Linked DNA regions of Homo sapiens: all the other regions are linked to region 7. Evidence: promoter capture Hi-C in 16 types of primary human blood cells and fetal thymus (Javierre and others, 2016). All regions are on one chromosome and are shown on one strand. Each heading gives the region's core, a stretch centred on a gene start or on the middle of the fragment in contact. The rest is flanking DNA. Distances are from core to core; before and after follow the strand shown.

Region 1 (2,776 bases), core at 244-2,743, 1.1 Mb before region 7:
TTATATATACTTTTCCCTTTTGCCTTTGAAAGCTTCTCCTTGTTTCAAGCTCTCTGGATATGCCTATAGTCCCTATAGCCTGCATGTCCTGGATTTGCAAATCCCCTGTGCATTCCTGAATGAACTCAACATCTTTGAAGAATCTCTGTTATTTAGGTTGACAGTTTAAATATATCCTACATTGTGCTTTTCTTTGCCTCACTTCTTCCACTTATTTTACTATTATTTTACCTTTCTATTGATTATTTATTTATATTCCAAACATTTCCTCTTCTAGTTTGAAAAGTATATACGCTGACTGTATTTATTATATTTAGGCTAAAAATTACAAACGTTTAACACATTAGCGTGCCATACAGGATTGTAATACATTTGCTTTCCACTTGGAAATATAAAAAATTTAAAACTTTGAGCAACTAGCCTCCTTTCAATTTATATGTAGTTGAGGTTACGCACGGGAATTCCATCATTCTAACTCAATAAGTATATCTACTTATGTTTTACACTGTAATATGCTGTTATTTTAATCAAAAGATGCACTTCTTTTCATCTTCATTTCTTCTCTCATTGCAGACTTTTCACCTGAGATCAACTTTCTTTGGCCTTGAGTATTATTTTAAACATTATTTTTTGTGTAAATGTATTTCCATTACATTTATCATTTTTGGTTTCAAATAGTTTTATATCACACTTCCATAAAAGACATTTTGTTGTGTATAGACATCTAGTTTGGTGGTTATTTCTTCTTTACAGAAAGTGTTCATGTTGCCCTTTTCATTGCCATATGACATTTGATGAATTCTGTCTTTTCAGACACTTGTAAAACACTTAAAATATTGAATACATCTCTGTATATGGAGTATGAAATACTATCTTGAACAAGAGTATTACTTGTTGGGTTTGACACAATCACTGCTGTATAAGCAGGATAAATATTTTCTGAGGTAACAGACAGAAGGGTTATTCACTTACTTCAAGGCCACCAAACATCCCCACTCCACGTTCCACATCATGGTGTCTGGAGTCTTTTCTTTCTTGTGCCTGACAGAAAATGCTGAGGCTCGCCAAACTAACTCTGGAGCATCAGGCTACACGCATTTGAAAACAATATTTGTTAACTTCCAGCCATAGAAATCTGAGTGACGTCAGTGTATGGTGTGTCCATTTTATTTTTTGATGAGCATTCTCTGCGTAAGGAAGGCTGAAATCATGTCTCTAAACATTCCTTTGATGTCAAACACGACGTTCACCAGAAATACAGATATGGCTCCTTCAAGAGGAAGCTAAGCTCCGTCTGGGCCTTGGAGACGAGGGACACCATTTCCACGCGCCCCTGGCGGTCTTCTCTGGGCTTTTAACCTGGAGGTGAAGCGAGACGCCGCTTACTAGTGTTGGTGCCGTGGGAACTACATTACCCAGGAAACTTGGCGGCTCTGGGCCAATGAAAACCCAGGAAATAGGCGTTTCCGTTGGTCCTCACCAACGTCAGGGCGGGACTTCCTCTACCATCCTCGGGTGGACATTTTGTTTGCTTTTCCATTAATCCACTGGTTTAGTTTCCAGAACGCAATGTCAGACCTGAGGTGACAGAAAAGGGAAAACGTGAGAGAGTGTCTTCTTCCCTGAAGAGAGGTGGGCCTGAGGCTTGACAGTGGCGCTGCCTGAGTGACCTAGCCGCTGGGCTGGGCCCTGGACAGCTGATCCCAGGTTCCTGCACTTGTCGCCACCCTTCCGTAGTCCACAGGCCTGATGGCGGCGGCTGAGCCGATGGGCCCGGCACAGGTGGGTGCTGCGTCTGCGAGTCTGCGCGCTGACCCCCATCTCTGAATCCCAAAGCTTCGAATGAACGATTCCTCGGGTTACTGCAGCTCAGGCCCCTGTATCTAGAACAGTGGGGGCGCTCGTGTTTGGGACCCATTTTGACAGCACGAGTTGAAGGACGTTCCAGGCAGAGAGACCAGTGTATGCAAAGGCTCAGAGATGGTTCACAGCTGGAGCATTTGGGAAAACTGGGCCTTTAGTGTCTGAAAGGATCAGAGCGCTTTATAAGTGATTGCACCTGGAATATCATCCTGAGCAGCTGGGTCTCTATTCTGAGGGTGATGGGAGCCATGGAAGGTTCTGAACAGAGGAGAGCCAGAATCCGAGGGTTTAAAAAGTATTCCATAGACTGCTCATGGAGGGCAGACTCTTGTTGGCCATGGGGGCGGATAATGAGCACTGTTCCGAGCTAACACAGTTAAGAGGTATCCTTGAAGATGGAAGCACAGAGGGTAGACATTCAGCTCCCAGGCACATTGTAACTGGGTAGGAATATGGGATGGGGTTGAGCCTTTGGGGTTCCTTCAAGATTGCTTGACTCGCATAGTCTCCCTCTTCCCCACAGGTTCCCATGAACTCAGAAGTAATTGTGGACCCTATACAGGTGAGGGGAGAATGTCCATGCTCTCACCGATCCCACCCCCACCCAATACGCTCTCCAGCATTGTGGTGTTATATAGAACACTCTCCTGCTACTCTCCGATCTCTTGGGTCTGAGGACTCTGGAGAAGCCCCAAGCCCAGGGTCCTGACTCCGGGCCAGGGGTTTTATGGAGGGGTTTCCATTTCTGCCAACCATTGGAATAAGGTTGGAAGGTTGTTCCAGGCACAGGAACCAGCCTGTGCAAAATACTTAGAGGTGAGACTGAGAAGGGAGTTTTCAAGAAATTGCAGGTCTCTGTCATGTCTGGTGGGAACCAAGAGCAAGGGGGCGGGAATCATCCTGAAATGGCTTA
Region 2 (2,978 bases), core at 360-2,859, 1.3 Mb before region 7:
ATAGGTAAGGTCATGTGGGTCATGTGTCCACTGGACGCGGGGCCCTTCTCTGCCTGGCAGCCAAGGCAGAGAGAGAGAGGGAGAGAGAGAGACAGCTTACACCATTATTTCTGCATATCAGAGACTTTTAGTACTTTCACTAATTTTGCTACTGTTATCTAGAAGGCAGAGCCAGGTGTACAGGATGGAACATGAAGGTGGACTAGGAGCGTGACCACTGAAGCACAGCATCACAGGGAGATGGTTAGGCCTCCGGATAACTGCGGGTGGGCCTGACTGATGTCAGGCCCTCCACAAGAGACGGAGGAGCAGAGTCTTCTCTAAACTCCCCCCGGGGAAAAGGGAGACTCCCTTTCCCGGTCCGCTAAGTAGCGGTTGTTTTTCCTTGACACTAAGGCTACCGCTAGACCAGACTTCCCAGATGCTGGCATCACCGCTAGACCAAGGAGCCCTCTGGTGGCCCTGTCTGGACATAACAGAAGGCTCGCACTCTTGTCTTCTGGTCACTTCTCACTGTGTCCCCTCAGCTCCTATCTCTGTATGGCCTGGTTTTTTCTAGGTTATGATTATAGAGCGAGTATTATTATAATACTGGAATAAAGAGTAATTGCTACAAACTAATGATTAATGATATTCATATATAATTACATCTATGATCTAGATCTAGTATAACTCTTGTTGTTTTATATATTTTATTATACTGGAATGGCTCATGCCCTCGGTCTCTTGCCTCAGCACCTGGGTAGCTTGCTGCCCACAACACTCACCTGGGAATAGTTGGTATTTACTAATTCACATTTACAAAACCGTGGCTGGAGTGTCAGCATTCCTGCCATGGGGAAAGTGGATATTTGAACCCTGAGAAAAGATTCTGGGTACAATAATCTCACCTTCTTGCTGGGAAGGAACTATCATTTCAGCAGTAAGTACAATGATAGTTTCGGCATGGGGACTGGAGATTACCTCTGGAAAACAGCTTGGACTGAGAAAATTAGTTAATATTGTGGATAAATGAAGTTACCACTGAGAATGACATAAGTAGCTAGAAAAGTTTCTGTGAAGTCTGAGAACACATAAATCTCAATGGATAGTGAGCAGAGGACATGGGGCTGTAAGTTCTGAGATAATTAAGTGGAGCCCATGGCTATCCTAGAGACTTGACTAACATGAAATTCTTATTTCTACAAAGTGTGTATTATTTCAATTTCTGAGAACTCAGGAAAAACCAACTGAGAGCCAAGGAAATAGTAAGGTAAGACTAGAAAGATGTCATAGAACAGAAAGAAAGCGATGGTGGCATCATATTGATTCAATGTCTTGGAATCTGCATCTTGTCACCTGGGGACACATTCTTTGATACAAAATGGAGGACCAGCTCATAGCTCCTGTGGTATTGAAAAACAAGTACTCCGGCCAGGCGTGGTGGCTCACGCCTGTAATACCAGCACTTTGGGAGCCCGAGGCGGGCGGATCACGGGGTCAGGCCATCGAGACCATCCTAGTCAACATGGTGAAACCCAGTATCCACTAAAATACAAAAAAATTAGCCAGGCGTGGTGGCGCACTCCTGTAGTCCCAGCTACTTGGGAGGCTGAGGCAGGGGAAATCACTTGAACCTGGGCGGAGGAGGGTGCAGTGAGCCGAGATCGCACCACTGCACTCCAGCCTGGTGACAGAGCAAGACTCCATCTCAAAAAAAAAGAAAAAAGAAAAAAAAAGTATTCCTTACAGTAAAGGAATGATATCACTGAAGAATATATTAGGTTCAAATATGTCTTTGTTTTACTTTTTCTTATTTCTTATTGAAATGGAAATAGAAAAAAAATTATTTTAGTATCAGGGTAATACCAACCTTGTATGATGAATTTAGAAGTATTTTCTCCTCCTCTTATTTTTGGGAATAGTTCGAGTAGGATTGGGGTTAGTTCTTTAAATGTTTGGTAAAATTCAGTAGTGAAGCCATTGGGTCCCAGGCTTTTCTTTGCTGGGAAAATTTTTATTACAGCCTCAATCTCATTGCTTGCTATTTGTCAGTTCAGGTTTTGGATTTCCTCATAATTCATCTTGGTAAGTTATATGTGTCTAGGAATTTGTCCATTTTTTCTATAATTTCCAATTTTTGGCATACAGTTGATCATAGTAGCCTCTAATGATCCTTTGAATTTCTGCAGTATTGGCTGTAAAGTCTTCTTTCTCACTTCTATTTTATTTGGTTTATCTTTCTTAGTCTGGCTAAAGGATTTTTTATTTTGTTTACTTTTCAAAAAACCAATTTCTCGGCCGGGCGTGGTGGCTCACGCCTGTAATCCCAGCACTTTGGGAGGCCGAGGTGGACAGATCACGAGGTCAGGAGTTCGAGACCAGCCTGACCAACATGGCAAAGCCCCGTCTGTATTAAAAATACAAAAATTAGCCGGGCATGGTGGTGGGTGCCTGTAATCCCAGCTACTTGGGAGGCTGAGGCAGGAGAATTGCTTGAACCCAGGAGGCAGAGGTTGCAGTGAACAGAGATCCTGCCATTGCACTCCAGCCTGGGTGATAAGAGCAAGACCCCATTTCAAAAAAAACAAACAAAAAACAAACAAACAAAAAAAATCATTTTGTTGAACACATTTGTATTGTTTTCTTTGTTTCAGTTTCATTTATTTCTGCTCTAATCTTTATTATTTTATTTTCCTTTTTTTTTTTTTTTTTTTGAGACAGAGTCTTGTTCTGTTGCCCAGGCTAGAGTGCAGTGGCGTGATCTTGGCTCACTGCAACCTCCACCTCCCGGGTTCAAGCAATTCTCCTGTCTCAGCCTCCTGAGTAGCTGGGACTACAGGTGCCTGCCACTACGTCTGGCTAATTTTTATATTTTTAGTAGAGATGGAATTTCACCTTATTGGTCAGGCTGGTCTCGAACTCCTGACCTCCGGTGATCCACCTGCCTCAGCCTCCCAAAGTGTTGGGACTGCAGGCGTGAGCTACTGCGCCCAGCT
Region 3 (2,700 bases), core at 15-2,514, 1.0 Mb before region 7:
GGAGTGACTACAATTATCTCATGCCTCAGTCTCTGTATTCCAGGGCAACTCCTTATCCATCCAGGCCTCTTTTTCAACAGAAACAGACCAGACTCTTAGCCCATATCTGCTCCCTTCTGCAGGGAGTATCAGAGATGCCCTCCCTACCATGGTCTTTCCTCCAAATCTGAGCCCTCCCCTACCTCAGCCCATATGAAAAAACGATGTAGGATTCTTCCTTCTCAATCTGATCCACAGGCCAACTTCTCAAGTGCACAACTTCTAACTCATTTAAAGCTCCAGGCCAGCTACCTTCCCTCACCTTTGGAAATTACGTCCACCTACCCATGTGATGTCGCCCAAAATCCAACCCAGGATCTTCTGTCTGAAACCCGCTCCTTAAGCTGATATCTCTAATTCCATTCTTTCAGATTTTTCAGGCCAAAACAAAACCTATGGAAGACACCATTCACTACCGACTTTCCCTCACAGCTATGTTTGATGCAGCAGGAAATCCTGTTGACCCTATCTCTGAGATCCATCCAGAGTCTCATCACATCTCCCCTCTACTGCAACCCCTCTGGCCCAGCCCTACCATAACTCAAGGGGTCTCCTCAGCGGTCCCCCTGCCCCCGTTCAACATCCTGTTTTCCCCAACTTTAAACTTCTAACTCTGGGCGTGACCCTCCCATTCGTCCTCCCTGCACAGCCCTCTATGGCTCTCTGCGGCTCCACTGCCCTTCCAGGGGAGACTCCGCCTCAACCTCTGCTCCTTGGAGACAAAGACGCTCGGGCTCCCCAGTGCCGCCCGTTCTGCAGTGCCTCCAAGCCCCAGAGACGTGTCGGTCTCCGACGGGAGCTCCCCCGCCTCATCGCACCGCAGTCCCAGTCCCGGGCACCCCACACAAGAACGCCCCTCTCTTAGAGACACAAGGGCCTAACCTGCAGGGCGGCTCCTTGGGACTTCAGCACTGGGAGGAGGGGTTGGGCGGGGCGGCCTGGGACGCTGCACGCACCTCGGTCAGGTTCATCGGCGCGGCCTCCTCCAGTCCACCCAGGGAAGAGCGGGGCGGGAACGGCGGTCACCTGGACGCTGACGGAGGCAGGGGCGCCTGCAGCCGACTCAGCCGATCCGCACTCTAGCCTCTGTGTAGAAGGAACACCGCTTCTCGCGTTTTTCCGCTCTTTCACCTCAGTCCCGACCCAGAGCTCTGGGACCCTCTAAATCAGTGAACAGATCCCTAGGTAGCCATGCTAACGCAACCATGAGGGCGCCGCCAGAAGTCCCGCCCACACAATTGAGACCTCATTAGTCGTCTCTCTGCTAGACCAATGGCTACACTCGCTGCCCTGCCCCCGCAGTGTCTTCTGGGTAATGTAGTTCTCACGTTGCTGCCTGTGTCGCCCGCAGTGTCTTCTGGGTAATGTAGTTCCCACGCTGCTGCCTGCCTCGCCTCACAATGCTGGGCGCGCGGACCTTACGGAAAAAAGCTGGAGGCTCCTGGAGGAGCGTTAAGAAATGCAGTTCCGGGGCTCTTAAGGACGTGGAGGGGCTTTGCTGACTCCTAAACTGCAAGTAACCAGATTTTCCCGGAGAGCAGTCTAGGACAAGTCTGAGAAATATTTCAGAGACCTGTCGTTTCAGATTCTCTGAAGCACAGCAAGTCCCGAAAGGAAGAACATCAGAAGCGACATGGCTGACCATAATGAACTGGTCCTCCATTCATAGCGGTCAGCTCTTTTGTGCTTGTCAAGTACACACATACTGAGGCTCTGGAGACTTTTTTTTGATCGTTAGTGTGCTTCTGTTGGGACAAGAAAGAAAAGACCCACACAGGATGTGATGGAGAGTTGAAGGAGGAATATCTTTCTGTCGACGAAAAGGGTGGAACTTTGTGAAATAGTTGAAGAGATTTATTCTGAGACAAATATGAGTGACTAATGGCCCATGACACGGCTCCAAGATATCCTAAGAACATATGCCCAGGGTGGCCCATCTACAGCTTGGTTTTAACAATTTAGGAAGACGTAAGACATCAATCAATACATGTAAAATGTACATTGGATTCCTCTGGAAAGGCGCAACTGGAAGGGAGGGGCGGGGCTTCCAGGTCAGGTGGGTTCAAAGATTTTCCGATTGGCAATTGGTTGAAAGAGTTTGTATCTAAAGACCTGGAATCAGTAGAAATGGTTGTCTGGGTTAAGGGGTTGTGGGCCGGGCGTGGTATCTCACGCCTGTAATCCCAGCACTTTGGGAGGCCGAGGTGGGCGGATCACCTGAGGTTGGGAGTTCGAGACCAGCCTGACCAACATGTAGAAACCCCATCTCTACTAAAAATACAAAATTAGACGGGCATGGTGGCACATGCCTGTAATGCCAGCTACTCGGGAGGCTGAGGCAGGAGAATCGCTTGAACCCGGGAGGCGGAGGTTACGGTGAGCCGAGATCTCGCCATTGTACTCCAGCCCGTGCAACAAGAGCGAAACTCCGTCTCAAAAACAAAAAAAGACAAGGGGTTGTGAAGACCAAGGTTATATCATGCAGATGAAGCCTCCAGGTAGTCTTATAAGGCCTTATGATAAGGCCTCAGCTCCTGAGCTAAAGCTATCTTCCCACCTCAGCCTCTAGAGCAGCTGGGACTGTAGGTACAGGACACCGTCCCTGGCTTTATTCAGCTTTTTACAATGCACTACAAAAAGTCGGCATTTAGAGCTATTTTT
Region 4 (2,835 bases), core at 262-2,761, 1.2 Mb before region 7:
CTCCCACCAACAGCGTATGAAGTTTCCCTTTCCTCTCTGTCCTGGCCAGCATTCATTATTCCCTGTCTTTTGCATAAAAGTCATTTTAACTAGAGTGAGATGATATCTCATTGTAGTTTTGATTTGCATTTTTATAGTGATCAATGATGTTAAGCATGTTTTCATCTACCTGCTTGCCATTTATCTGTCTTTTAAAATTTTTAGTTTTATGAGTACATAGTATGTATGTATATTTATGGGATACGTGAGATATTGTGATACAGGCATACAATGTGTAATAATCATATCAGGGTACACAAGCATTTATCATTTCTTTGTGTTACAAACATTCTAGTTATAATACTCTTTTAGTTGTTTTTAATGTACAATAAATTACTGTTGACTGTAGTCTCTCTACTGTGCTATCAAATACTAGATCTTATTCATTCTACCCTGTCTTAAGGAGGCCTTGGTAGCCATGCTGAGGTTATGGGGTGCTGCTTCCAAAACCAAAAGTATTATGGGCAGCTGGTATGAAGGATCATAGGCTTATGGTCTGTGAGATCCTGTATGTTTAAGAAAGCCCAGTCTTATTGCCAGTAATTACTGTTTTAATGGTGTATAGCATGAGGCTGAAAGAGACAGTTTCCTGCATTGGAAGCTTTTACTCAACAAATGGCCGTTGTATGTGGTTCAGAGATTCCAAGAGGCATGAGAAGTGTAAACCAAAAATAAAATTCCCAGCCCCCCAACCATCTGAATGCATCCTTCCTCTTGGCCAAGGGCATTCCAAAGTTAATCTGAAAAACTAGTTCAGGACGTGATGGGAAGTGAGGGTCAGACTTGCCCTCCTCCCCTTGGAATTCAGGCACAACTGACCAGCATTAACATTAAAACAGAGATTTTAAGACTTCTTGTAGCAATAAGACAGTGAATTCCAGCCTGATTGTAGTATAGCATTACATGACAGATAGCAGGCCCTGAAAGGAATTGAAGTATTTTACTCTAAACTTTATTTATTTGACATATTTTGAAGAGGCCCTGCAAAGGTGTGTCTTGTGGAATCTGCATTTTGCTGAGAATCCCCTTTCCTCTCCAGGGTTTTTTTATTTTCATGGTCCAGGAAAGAATTAAGAGTCTGGCACCTTTCAAAGTCTGATAGGAAACATTTACAATCTATTCCCTCTGAAGCCTGCTGCGTGAAAGCTTCATCTGCTTAATAAGAACCTTGGTCTCTACAACCTCTTATCTTAACCCAGACACTCCCTTCAGTGGGTATGGGACTGCGGAAATCGGCCAGCGGCCCCTTTAAGGAGCAGCAAGTCCCTGTCTCGCTCTTGGTGTCGCGCCTTTTCCTAGCGCCCTCCGCGGGCCGCTTAGCCCTTGTTCCGGGTGAATCTCAGGGAGGGCACCGGAACCCTGGGCTTCTGAGAACTACATTACCCATAATGCCGAGCGCCAAGCTGCAAAGACGCGGAGCCAATCAACGTTCAGGAACGGACCTGTCTCCGTTTGTTGCATACGGTAAGGCGGGACTTCCGGCACCGCTCCGAGATGGTAATTTTGGTGGTTCTCTACCTCGGCCCACGCCGCCTGAGTTAGAAACGCTGCCTCCGGCACAGAGCGGGGGTCGCCCCGCTGCGCATCAGCCGGTGGGTCGCTGGCGCTGGTGGCAGCCGTGCCTGGGTTCCCGCCCCGGGTCGCCCGCCGCTCCCGGCCCCGCTCCGCTCACAATCCGATGGCGGCGGCCGTGCTTAGGGATTCGACTTCGGTGAGTGCTGCGTCTCCCGGGCCTCACCTGCCCTCTCCGCCGGAAATCCAACACCCTGCATGAGGGGCGCCTGCTTGCGTCCCTGCAGCCCGACCCTAGAGTCCAGGACTATGAGGCCCTCGCGGGTGGGGCTCCCATTTACAAGCCTGGTGTCGTGGGCTGTGGAGGGTGTGGCAGGCGGAGGGGCCGGTTTCTGTGAATCTTGCTGGGACGATTGAGCCAGTAACGTTCACGCCCGAATGGTAAAATGAGGCTCTTTCTTTTCAAGACGCTGAGAGCCATGGGTGGTTGTGAACAGACGAGGCACATGGTCTGAGTTAGACTTTTCAAATTTTTTCTAAAGTTACTCAGAGTTGGAACAGCCTGGAAGGGGGATAACACCGAGGCACAGGGAAGTTGAGTCCTTGTGCAAGGTCCCACAGCAGGTAAGAGTCACACGGAACTGAGGAGCAATAATAATTTAGTCATCACCAAGTCACCTGGCTCCAGGGCTGCGCAGGGAAACAAGGAGGCATCAGCCCATGGAGCTTCCACCATAGTTACCTGCCTCTCATAGCCTTCCTCTTCCCGCAGGTTCCCGTGACTGCAGAAGCTAAACTTATGGGCTTTACACAGGTGAGTGGAGAGTGTTTCGGGCCCTCACTGATGCTGACCCCAGTGTTTGTCTCTGAGATTGTGTTCTGGGACTCTTCTCTTGGCACTCTTTGGGTCCTTGGTTCTAGGAATCCTGAACAAACATCAGTCCCAGGGTCATACATCCAGGCTGGAAGCTGGTATAGAATGGTTCCTATTGCTGGGAACCAGTAAAGTAAGGTGTGGAACGTTGTCTCAGGCTTAGATACCAGATGAGCAAGTGCTTGAAGGTCAGGCTGAGCTGGTTTAGGAAACTACAGCTGTTTTCTTTCTCATGGGAACTGAAAGCTGGGATGCAGGAATCAGACAAAAAATGGCTGTCAGTTGTCGGGTGTTTCTTCTGGAGTGTGTGATGAGCAATGACAGTTTGGGGGCAGAGGAGGTATGTGATCTGATCCAGGTCTCATCAGGTTCCCTGTGTGTGGCCAAGCTGAGAGAACAGGCTGAGTGTG
Region 5 (2,943 bases), core at 444-2,943, 1.2 Mb before region 7:
AACCTTTGTCAGCTGCTTGTGGGAATGTAAAATGGTGCAGCTGCTATGAAAAACAATTTTAGTGGTTCCTTAAAAATTAAAAATAATTACCTTATGATCCAGAAATTCTACTTTTGGGCCAATACCCAAAAGAATTGAAAGCAAGGACACAAATACGTATCTGTACACCCATGTTCACAGTAATATTATTCACAACAGCCAGAAGGTGAAAACAACCTGTGTCCACTGATGAAGGAATGGATAAACAAACTGTAATACATACAAAAGAATATTATTCAGCCTTAAAAAGAAGCAATTCTGATATATATTACAACATGGATGAATCTTGAAGATATTATGCTAAGTGAAGTAAGCCAGATAGAAAAGAACAAATATTGTGTGATCCCACTCATATGAGGTACTTACAGTAGACAAATTCATACAGACCAAAAGTAAAATGGTGGTTGCCAGGGGATGGGAAGAGTTATTATTTAATGAGTACAAAGTTTCAGTTTTATAAGATGAAAAAGTACTATAGAAGGATGGTGGTGATGGTTGCACAATAATGCGAATGTACTAAATGCGCTGAACTATATACTTGAAAATGATTAAAATGGTAAATTTTGTTATATATATTTTACAATTAAAAACAAAGAAAAACACCTTGAAGGAGGTTTCTATAAGAACAGTCTGTGTAATGTCTCTGCGGCACAATTTGTTAGAGTGTTCTGCTGTTAATGGAAAGGTTGGTGGTTGAAGAACAGTCTGTGTAAATAGTGGCAATGTCAGTGACTACATTTCATGTCACAGTCTAGCACAAATAAATGTTAGGTACACGAAGGGAGGGAAAACTGGGTGCCATAGATCTAGAAAGTCACCAGACAGGGAGAAGGCAAGTCAGGTGGGATCTATTAGGCTTACTGTAAGACTACTGATCCCAAATCCTTACCCAAGATGCTTTTGGGCTGGGACGATAAGGGAAGTAGGCTTGCACTCAGTCCACAACATCTACCCAGGGAACTGGGGAAGGAGGCAGTGCCTATAGTCCAGATATGAGGACAGAGCTGCTCCTGAGGAAAAGGAGAAACAGAGAGCCTAGTCCAGGGCACAAGGGTGAGTATGAGGGCCTTACCCAGGGAGGACGTAAGTGCAAAGTTCTCCAGCATCACATCGAAGTACAGGTGTTTCTGAGCCTCATCAAGGAGATCCCATTCCTCCCAGGAGAAGTACACGGCCACATCTTCAAAGGTCACACTTCCCTAGCATAATAGGGATTGATGAAACCATGAACAGTCTCAATTTGGAAGACTCAAAATCCATGTCCCCATACATTCTCCTCCCAAGATCCCCAAGTCAGAAGAGACACCAGACCTTGGTGTCATTGATCCCTGCTGTCTCTTCACATTCCCATTAGTCACTGTGTTCATTCTGTTTTCCACTCTGTATCCTGTCAACACTTGGGTTAGATAAATCTCCCTCCTCTGATCCCAAACTCCAACTTCCTCACAATAGATGCCAAACTTCACAGAAATAAAGGAAACCTGCAGTTCCCTGAACCAGCTCAGCCTCACCTCCAAGGAGTTCCAAAAGCTGGTACCTACCTGTTTCTATCATAAATTTTCACCCATCTTTCCATTGGCTGCTCCAAATGGAAACATTGGCCTGGACTCAGGGCCCTTAGCTCAGGGATTCTCCAGGGTTCCCAAACCAAACGCTGAGAGAATGGTAGGTGAGTCCCATGACACCACAAATCTAAAGAAAATATCTGTCTGGGGAGGGTGGAGGGACATTCCAGACCAGTGAGGGGCTGAGATACCTCCACTTACCTGTGTAAGTTTGAAAAGCACCTCTGTAGCTATGGGAACCTGTGGAAAGACGCAGGCCTCAGAGGAATGTGATCATGGCAGTGCTCCATGGGCACAGGCCTTCCCTGTACCCTTGCCCCGGCCCAGAGCCACGTAACTTTGGGTCGACTGTCTAACCTGTGCGCCTCGGTCCTTAGTGCTGCCTCTCACCAGTTGTGTGGCCTTGGAAAAATATTCAACCTCCCTCTGCCTCAACGTCCTCATCCATCTCTAAAGTCTTTTCTTCCACTGAACAGCCTGCAGAGGATTTTTCAAATTTAACTCAGATGGTGTCTCTCGTTTGCGCAAGCTCTCTATGGCTCCCACGGCCCTAAGAATAAAGGTAGATCTCTCTCAAACTTTGTTCCCTGCAGTAACAATGTGGAGCCCAGGTTCCTGAATGCCCCCTTCTCGGTTGCCCGTCCAAGCCCTGCACGCGCCGGTCCTGTCCCTTGTCCCCCTGCCCACCACATCGGATGTCAGAAATAGGGGCCCCACCCACGAGCCTCAGTGTCCCCGACCCTGTGCTACAGAGACGTGAGCTGGTGCCTCTCACTTGGGACTTAAGAATCTCGGCCGGGGGAGGCCCGGAGATCGCAGCGCTCACCGAAGCCGGGTCCCTCAGTGCGGTCGCCATCCGAGTCTGTGGGCGGAGCTGGACCGGGAGCTGCGGGCGACCCGGGGGGAACCCGAGCATCGCTATCCCCAGGCCGGCCTCGCGGGCGGCTCTGCCCCCGACCCTCAGACCTGACTCTCGCGCCTTCACGGTCCGTCACTTCGATCCCGATGCAGCGTACCAAAGCGGCTGACAGACAGAACGGACCTCCGGGAGGGCAGCCAAAATGACCGCTGCGAAGACGCCACAAGTCCCGCCCTGGGGGGGGCGGGGGTAGACCCACACGGAAATGCCCCTGTCTTGGATTTTCATTGGATCAAAGTACTGCCGCTCGACGCAAGGCTTTCTGGGTAATGTAGTCTCCCCCAGGCTGCGACGGAGGGCGCCTTGTGTGCAGACAGCTGGGAGCGCTAGGAAGCTGCGTCTGCTGCCTTCCAGGGCGACTGAGGGGCTTCGGTGTTTGAGGTCTTAAGTAGGTTGACACTTGAACAACACAGGTTTGAG
Region 6 (2,705 bases), core at 183-2,682, 1.3 Mb before region 7:
TATTGTTTTCTTAATTTCCTTTTCAGATTTTTCATTGTTAGTGTATGGAAGGGCATATGAGTTTTACATGTTGACTTTTGCATGTTGACTTTGAATTCAGCTACACAGGTGAATTTGTTTATCAGTTCTTTTTTTTTTTTTTTTTCCCAGACGGAGTCTCACTCTGTTGCCCAGGCTAGAGTGCAATGGCTTGATCTTGGCTCACCACAAGTTCCACCTCCCAGGTTCAAGCAATTCTTCTGCCTCAGCCTCCCAAGTGGCTGGCACTACAGGCGCCAGCACCATGCCCGGCTAATTTCTGTATTTTCAGTAGAGCGAGGGTTTTACCATGTTGGCCAGGCTGGTCTTGAACTCCTGACCTCAGGTGAGCCACTGCGCCTGGGCTTTTTTGTTTTTGTTCTTGAGACAGTGTCTTGCTCTGTCTCCCAGGGTGGAGTGCAGTGGCGCGATCTCAGCTCACTGCAACCTCTGCCTCCCGGGTTCAAGCGATTCTCCTGCCTCAGCCTCCTGAGTAGCTGGGGTTACAAGCATACACCACCATGCCCAGCTAATTTTTGTATGTTTAAATTAATCAAAGTTGCCAGCAAAAAAAAAAAAAAATATTAATTCCTCCCTTAGAAGTTACAATAAACATCTTTTTAAAATTTTTTTGAGCCTGTCACCCAGGCTGGAGTGCGGTGGTCTGTTCTCAGCTCACTGCAACCTCTGCCTCCCAGGTTCAAGTGATCCTCTCATCTCAGCCTCCCAAATAGCTGGGATTACAGGCGCATGTCGCCAAACCTAGCTAATTGTTTTTTTGTATTTTTTGTACAGATGAGGTTTTGCCTTGGTGCTCAGGCTGGTCTCAAACTCCTGGACTCAAGTGATCTGCCCGCCTCAGCCTGACAAAGTGCTGGGATTACAGGCATGAGACACTGTGCCCAGCCTAAACATCTTTAATCTAATTCGACCTTCAAATAACTACTGGATTGCTTCACATGTAATGCAGGGACCCTGTAACAGGACCTTTGGGGATGAATTCTTTAGTATTTGTGTGAGAAAAGCTTTATTCTCCTCCACCTTTGAAAGATAACATTGCTGGATATAGATGTTAGGGTGGGGTTTTATTTTTTGTACTAAATTTTGAACTTTCACTCCATTCCCTTCTTGATTATCTGGTTTCTGACAAGAATTCTACTCTAAATCTCATCCTTGTTCCTCAGCAGGTAAAGTGCCCTCTCCCACCTCCATCTTCTTTCAAGAATTTCTCTATCTTTGGCCTTCTGTAGTTTGAATATGATGTACCTAGTTGTAGGTTTTTGGTATTTACACTGCTTCCTCTTCTCTGAGATTTCTGGATCTGTGGTTTGGTGTCTATGATTAATTTTGGACCTCCAAGTGGAGGTTGCAGTGAGCCAAGATCACACCACGGCACTCCAGTCTGAGCGACAGATCAAGACTCTGACTCAGAAAAAAAAAAAAAAGCCGGGCACGGTCACTCACGCTTGTAATCCCAGCACTTTGGGAGGCCGAACCACTGCGGCCGGCCCCATCTCTTTTTTTAAAAAAGGATATCAACATTATGGATTCATTCATTTATTCAACAGAAATTTATTGGTTCTTGGAAATGTTCCACTTTCCCAACCACTTGGAATACTTTAGTGAACAAAACTGACAAATTCCATGCTCTCCTTAGCCTTACATTTTAATGAAGCAAGACAATAAATTGAAAGCATAATCAGGAGATTATATCTTATATCCTAAGTAGATAAATACTATAGGAATATACATACTTGCATACATATTTATACACATTATCAGACCAGCAGCTTAGGAAGCTTCTGGTGTGGAGGGAACACTTGGCAGGGTAATTTTCTCATGAGTCCTCATATGGCGGTGGTATGTGGATGACTGGCGGTAGCTTGTCTTACAAAAGGGACATGTATAAGGCTTTTCTCCTGTGTGGATTCTCTCATGAGACCGCAGGTTGGTTTTGTGGCTGAAGGACTTTTTACACATGCTGCATGTGAAAGGCTTCTTTCCTGTGTGAATTATCTGATGCACCCGTAGGTCTGATATCTGGAAGAAGCCTTTTTGACACTCGGGACAAACAAATGGCCTCTCATTCCTGTGTCTTCTCTGGTGAGCTAATAAGTGACAGAGATACTTAAAGACCTTGGGGCATTCTTCACATTTGTATGATTTTTGGACTCCATGGGATCCTTTCTGATGTACCTCACATGTGGAATTTCCCTCATTGCTCTGGTGGGTAAGGGCAGACTCAGGGGAGGACTGCTCTGGTTGAGAGATACACCCTGCTCCCATCACCATAGGGACACCTTGGAAAGTGATTCCATTTATGGACCCTTCCTGAGATCTAGCAGTGACTAGCTCTGCTCTTTTTGAGTTGTATGGGTTGTCAGAAGAAACACCTCCCTCTTCAGGCCTAGGACCGTTCTCTTCCTGGATGATGATTAGGGAAACTATTTGATTGCCTTGATTAGTAATATTTTCATTTACTCGAGTAGTTTTCGAAGAACTGTTCCAGCCATCTTGTTCATCTTCATATCCTGTGAAAATAGACACTCAATGAAGTTGTACTTAAGAAGGGGTCCACATAGAACACTCCTCAGTTGTGCAGATTCACCTGACTTACCTTGTCCTGTTTCTAAGGAAGTATCTTGGGAAGTCTGGGAGGGTGTCCCCATGTTTGCTTCTCTTGTGGT
Region 7 (3,010 bases), core at 75-2,574:
AAAAACTACTGTGCCAGAGGACAAGCAGCCAGCGTGGTCAGCTTTTCAGGCTTAAGGCTGAGGCTCCTGTCTGTCTCTCCCTTTTCAGCTCTCGTCCCTCCCTTTCTCCATCTTTTCCCCTTTATCTCAATCTTTCTGTCTCTCCACCACAACAGCAGTCTCCCAAACCCCAGAGCACACCAGCATCTCCAAGCACCCACACAGCTTCCTGCCCACACAAATCACAGACAACAAACCACATAGTTTCTCATTCTGGCACCTCCCCTGGCAACCTATGGACATGCCCCCACATTGTAGCCCGCCCTGCTCTCACAATGGGTCATATAAGGCCATTCTCAGTCACACTGTCACACTCACTGTCGGGATGACATACAGTGCTAAGTCACACCATCTCCCTCAGTCTCACATAATCACACACACTGTCATGCACAATCTCAAACACTGTCACATACAATCTTAGTCCAACAACAAAAACTCTGTTCACATACAGTTTCACATACAGTGACACAGTCTCACACACTGTCACACAAATTCTGTCGCAGTTTCATGTGGTCCCATATCAACAGCCACACACCGTACACAACCACACATAGCCTCACACACGGTGACATGGTCTCACATACTGTCACAGTCTCATCTAATCCTACACACACGGTCAAGCTCTGTTCACAAAGTCACACACACTGTCACACAGTCTTACATTATCCCACACACACAGGTCACACACACAGTGACATGGTCTTACACACTGTTCACACGTGGTCTACACATAATGACAGTTTAACACTGTCACACATTCCCAGTCTCACACATGGTGACGTGGTCTTAAGCACATACAGTGTCACACAGTCCCACACGGTCCCATATACTGTCAAAGGCTCCCGCATACACCGGGGCAACGGTCTCATACTGTCGCACACATTCTCACACCCAGTCTCATACTGTCACACATAGTCCCACATTTGTCCCACATGGTCTCACACTGACACACATATTCACACACGGCCTCACATTCTCACACTGTCACACACGGTCTCAAATTCTCACACAGTCACACATGGTCTCACACACGATTCCACACTGTCAAACACATTGTCACACACGGTTCCTTAATGTCTCACACATTCTCACACACTGTCACACACGGTCCCACACATGGTGGCATGGCCGCTCCCGGCGTCAGCTCCATCCCGCGCTCCTCACCGCCTCCTCCCTCCAGTGGGCACCTCCTTCGGCGCGGTCCTTGGAGGCCGGGGCTGGGCCAGGGCCCGGGCCAGGGCTCGATCCTGGCCGGCGGCCGCGCTCACAAAGGCGCCGCAGCCCTAGGGCAGGCCGCAGGGGCCGCTGGGAAATGGAGTCCGGGGCCGGCGCGGCGCAGAGGATGCTGGGATGTTGGCCGAGGGCCCCGGGCGGCCGCAGATCCCGCCGCTCAGTTGCGGGTAGTTACTGCTGCGCCCCTTTCCCTAGTAAGCCCACCTCCGCTGGCCTTCAGAATCCCACCCGGACCAGCTGAGCCCTCTCAGGCCGTTCGACTGTCCGCTCCCCCACCCGTTCCACCCGTTCCACCTGCGCAGGCGCAGCTGGTTCAGGTCCCCAAAGGCTGCCAGGCCGGGGTGCCAGCGCGGTGAGGCGCACGCGCAGTGACCGCGTCCGCGCTCCAGCGCTCCGGGTGGGGCTGTGAGTCCATCGCTGAGAAAAGGGAGCTGGAGGACCAGTGTGGAGCCTGAGCCAGCTGGAGAGGGGCCCGGTAGGATGTACGTGTGATTAAGCGCTCTGGCGGCCCGGGCTTTCTCTTTCCCTTTCTGTTTCTTCTCTCTCCGCCTTGCCCTGTCTTTCATTCGCCACTTATTGAGCGCCTGCTGTATCGGGCACTGTCGTGGGCCCTGGGCACACAGCAGTGAACAAGCAGACAAAATCCCCACCTCATGGAGCAGCATTCTAATGCGGGAGGAATTCAATAGGAAAAAATTAATAATAAAGGACACTGATGCATATTGGGAAGTAATGCGTATTATCAAGAAAAGCGAAGCAGAGTATTAAGATCATTCTTTCAGTTCTTCATTCTTTCAGTTATGCCCTCTGAATCAGTGGAAAAAACGCAAGGTGCATTTTTTTCTATTATCTCAACGACAACTAATCATAACAGAAGACTTTTCTGACCAAATATAGGGGAGTTTCCCACACATCTCAAGCAAGCAATGAGTTCAGTGAGTTCTGCAGCGGGCACCAGCTGGGTGTCCTCCAGTTTAATTCCGACGCCGTCTACTTGGAGATGGGTCAGACACCATTCGCTGAGGGCTCAGTCCCCAAGCCTGCCTCCCCCTTCCCACTTCCCACTAAAGTCTAGCCTCTGGAACATCTGACTCCACCACCTTCAAATTGGGATTTTCACCACCCCCTCTTTGCGGTTCGATATTTTGCTAGAGTGGCTCACGGAACTCAGGAAACACTTATGTTTACTAGTTTATTATAAAGGATATTACAAATGATATAGATGAAGAGATGCGTAGGGCAAAGTACAGAAAAAAGGGTGTTGCACCTTCCAGTAACCTCCACATGTTCAGCTGGGTGGAAGCTCTCTAAACCCTGTCTTTTGGGAGTTTTACAGAGGCTTCATTACATAGGCATGGTTGATTAAAATCCCGTCCCCTCCTTAGGGTTGGGGGTGGGGTTGAATGTCCCAACCTTCTAGTCATGTCTTGGTCTTTCCATAACCAGTCCCCATCCTGAAACTCTATAGGGGTTGCCAGCTGTCAACTCATTAGCATACAAAATGAGTTTTTACTGTTACTTTGTAGTTTCTAAGGATTTTAGAAGTTCTATGCTAGGAAGATCAAATATATATTTCACAATATCATACTCTTATTCCTATTCTTCAATCTGTCTTTGAAAATATTTTATAAACTCCTATCTCTAGTTTATCTCCCAATCCTGTACCATCCCTTCCAAAATCCTGTTGTGCCCTTCAATTGCTTCATTTAATTGTCTGACCAAAGTTGCCAGTGACAAA

Evidence for each region. The method cuts DNA at HindIII sites, captures the fragments that hold promoters and counts their contacts. A CHiCAGO score of 5 or more calls a contact.
Region 1: a contact is called between the fragment with the promoter of ZNF772 here and the fragment with the promoter of ZNF583 in region 7, in 6 of 17 cell types (naive CD4 T cells, monocytes, M1 macrophages and 3 more). The highest score is 8.0, in naive CD4 T cells.
Region 2: a contact is called between a fragment that was not itself captured here and the fragment with the promoter of ZNF583 in region 7, in 1 of 17 cell types (neutrophils). The highest score is 5.3, in neutrophils.
Region 3: the fragment with the promoter of ZNF749 here is called in contact with the fragment with the promoter of ZNF583 in region 7 in 4 of 17 cell types (non-activated CD4 T cells, total CD8 T cells, total CD4 T cells and 1 more); the score reaches 7.6 in non-activated CD4 T cells.
Region 4: a contact is called between the fragment with the promoter of ZNF416 here and the fragment with the promoter of ZNF583 in region 7, in 7 of 17 cell types (total CD8 T cells, monocytes, total CD4 T cells and 4 more). The highest score is 8.9, in total CD8 T cells.
Region 5: a contact is called between a fragment that was not itself captured here and the fragment with the promoter of ZNF583 in region 7, in 1 of 17 cell types (total CD4 T cells). The highest score is 5.2, in total CD4 T cells.
Region 6: a contact is called between a fragment that was not itself captured here and the fragment with the promoter of ZNF583 in region 7, in 1 of 17 cell types (non-activated CD4 T cells). The highest score is 6.2, in non-activated CD4 T cells.

The regions. Positions count from the first base shown.
Region 1 is chr19:57,476,283-57,479,058 of GRCh38, reverse strand. ZNF772 (zinc finger protein 772) reads left to right here and starts at 1,493. Exons shown (of 4, transcript NM_001144068.2): 1 at 1,493-1,782; 2 at 2,387-2,425. The coding sequence starts at 1,750. RefSeq lists enhancers at 979-2,178, 1,769-2,292. The HindIII fragment of the contact is 1,804 bases long and covers 35-1,838 here.
Region 2 is chr19:57,735,998-57,738,975 of GRCh38, reverse strand. No RefSeq gene overlaps it. Among named protein-coding and RNA genes, the nearest start is that of ZNF776, 9.3 kb to the left of the region's middle. The HindIII fragment of the contact is 6,253 bases long and covers 1-2,978 here.
Region 3 is chr19:57,433,889-57,436,588 of GRCh38, reverse strand. ZNF749 (zinc finger protein 749) reads right to left here and starts at 1,264. Exons shown (of 3, transcript NM_001023561.4): 1 at 996-1,264. The coding sequence starts at 1,010. RefSeq lists enhancers at 700-749, 1,380-1,679. The HindIII fragment of the contact is 4,352 bases long and covers 1-2,700 here.
Region 4 is chr19:57,577,587-57,580,421 of GRCh38, reverse strand. ZNF416 (zinc finger protein 416) reads left to right here and starts at 1,511. Exons shown (of 4, transcript NM_017879.3): 1 at 1,511-1,750; 2 at 2,324-2,365. The coding sequence starts at 1,718. RefSeq lists a silencer at 1,602-1,821. The HindIII fragment of the contact is 6,514 bases long and covers 1,188-2,835 here.
Region 5 is chr19:57,632,924-57,635,866 of GRCh38, reverse strand. ZNF211 (zinc finger protein 211) reads right to left here and starts at 2,699. Exons shown (of 4, transcript NM_006385.5): 1 at 2,431-2,699; 2 at 1,806-1,844; 3 at 1,112-1,238. The coding sequence starts at 2,520. RefSeq lists a silencer at 2,380-2,449 and an enhancer at 2,890-2,939. The HindIII fragment of the contact is 4,311 bases long and covers 1-2,943 here.
Region 6 is chr19:57,678,010-57,680,714 of GRCh38, reverse strand. It overlaps ZSCAN4 (zinc finger and SCAN domain containing 4), which reads right to left. Exons shown (of 5, transcript NM_152677.4): 4 at 2,636-2,705; 5 at 1,563-2,549. The coding sequence ends at 1,810. Among named protein-coding and RNA genes, the nearest start is that of ZNF551, 2.6 kb to the left of the region's middle. The HindIII fragment of the contact is 774 bases long and covers 1,046-1,819 here.
Region 7 is chr19:56,402,646-56,405,655 of GRCh38, reverse strand. It overlaps ZNF583 (zinc finger protein 583), which reads right to left and starts at 1,324. Exons shown (of 5, transcript NM_152478.3): 1 at 1,204-1,324. RefSeq lists a silencer at 1,091-1,300 and an enhancer at 1,761-1,900. The HindIII fragment of the contact is 8,045 bases long and covers 1-3,010 here.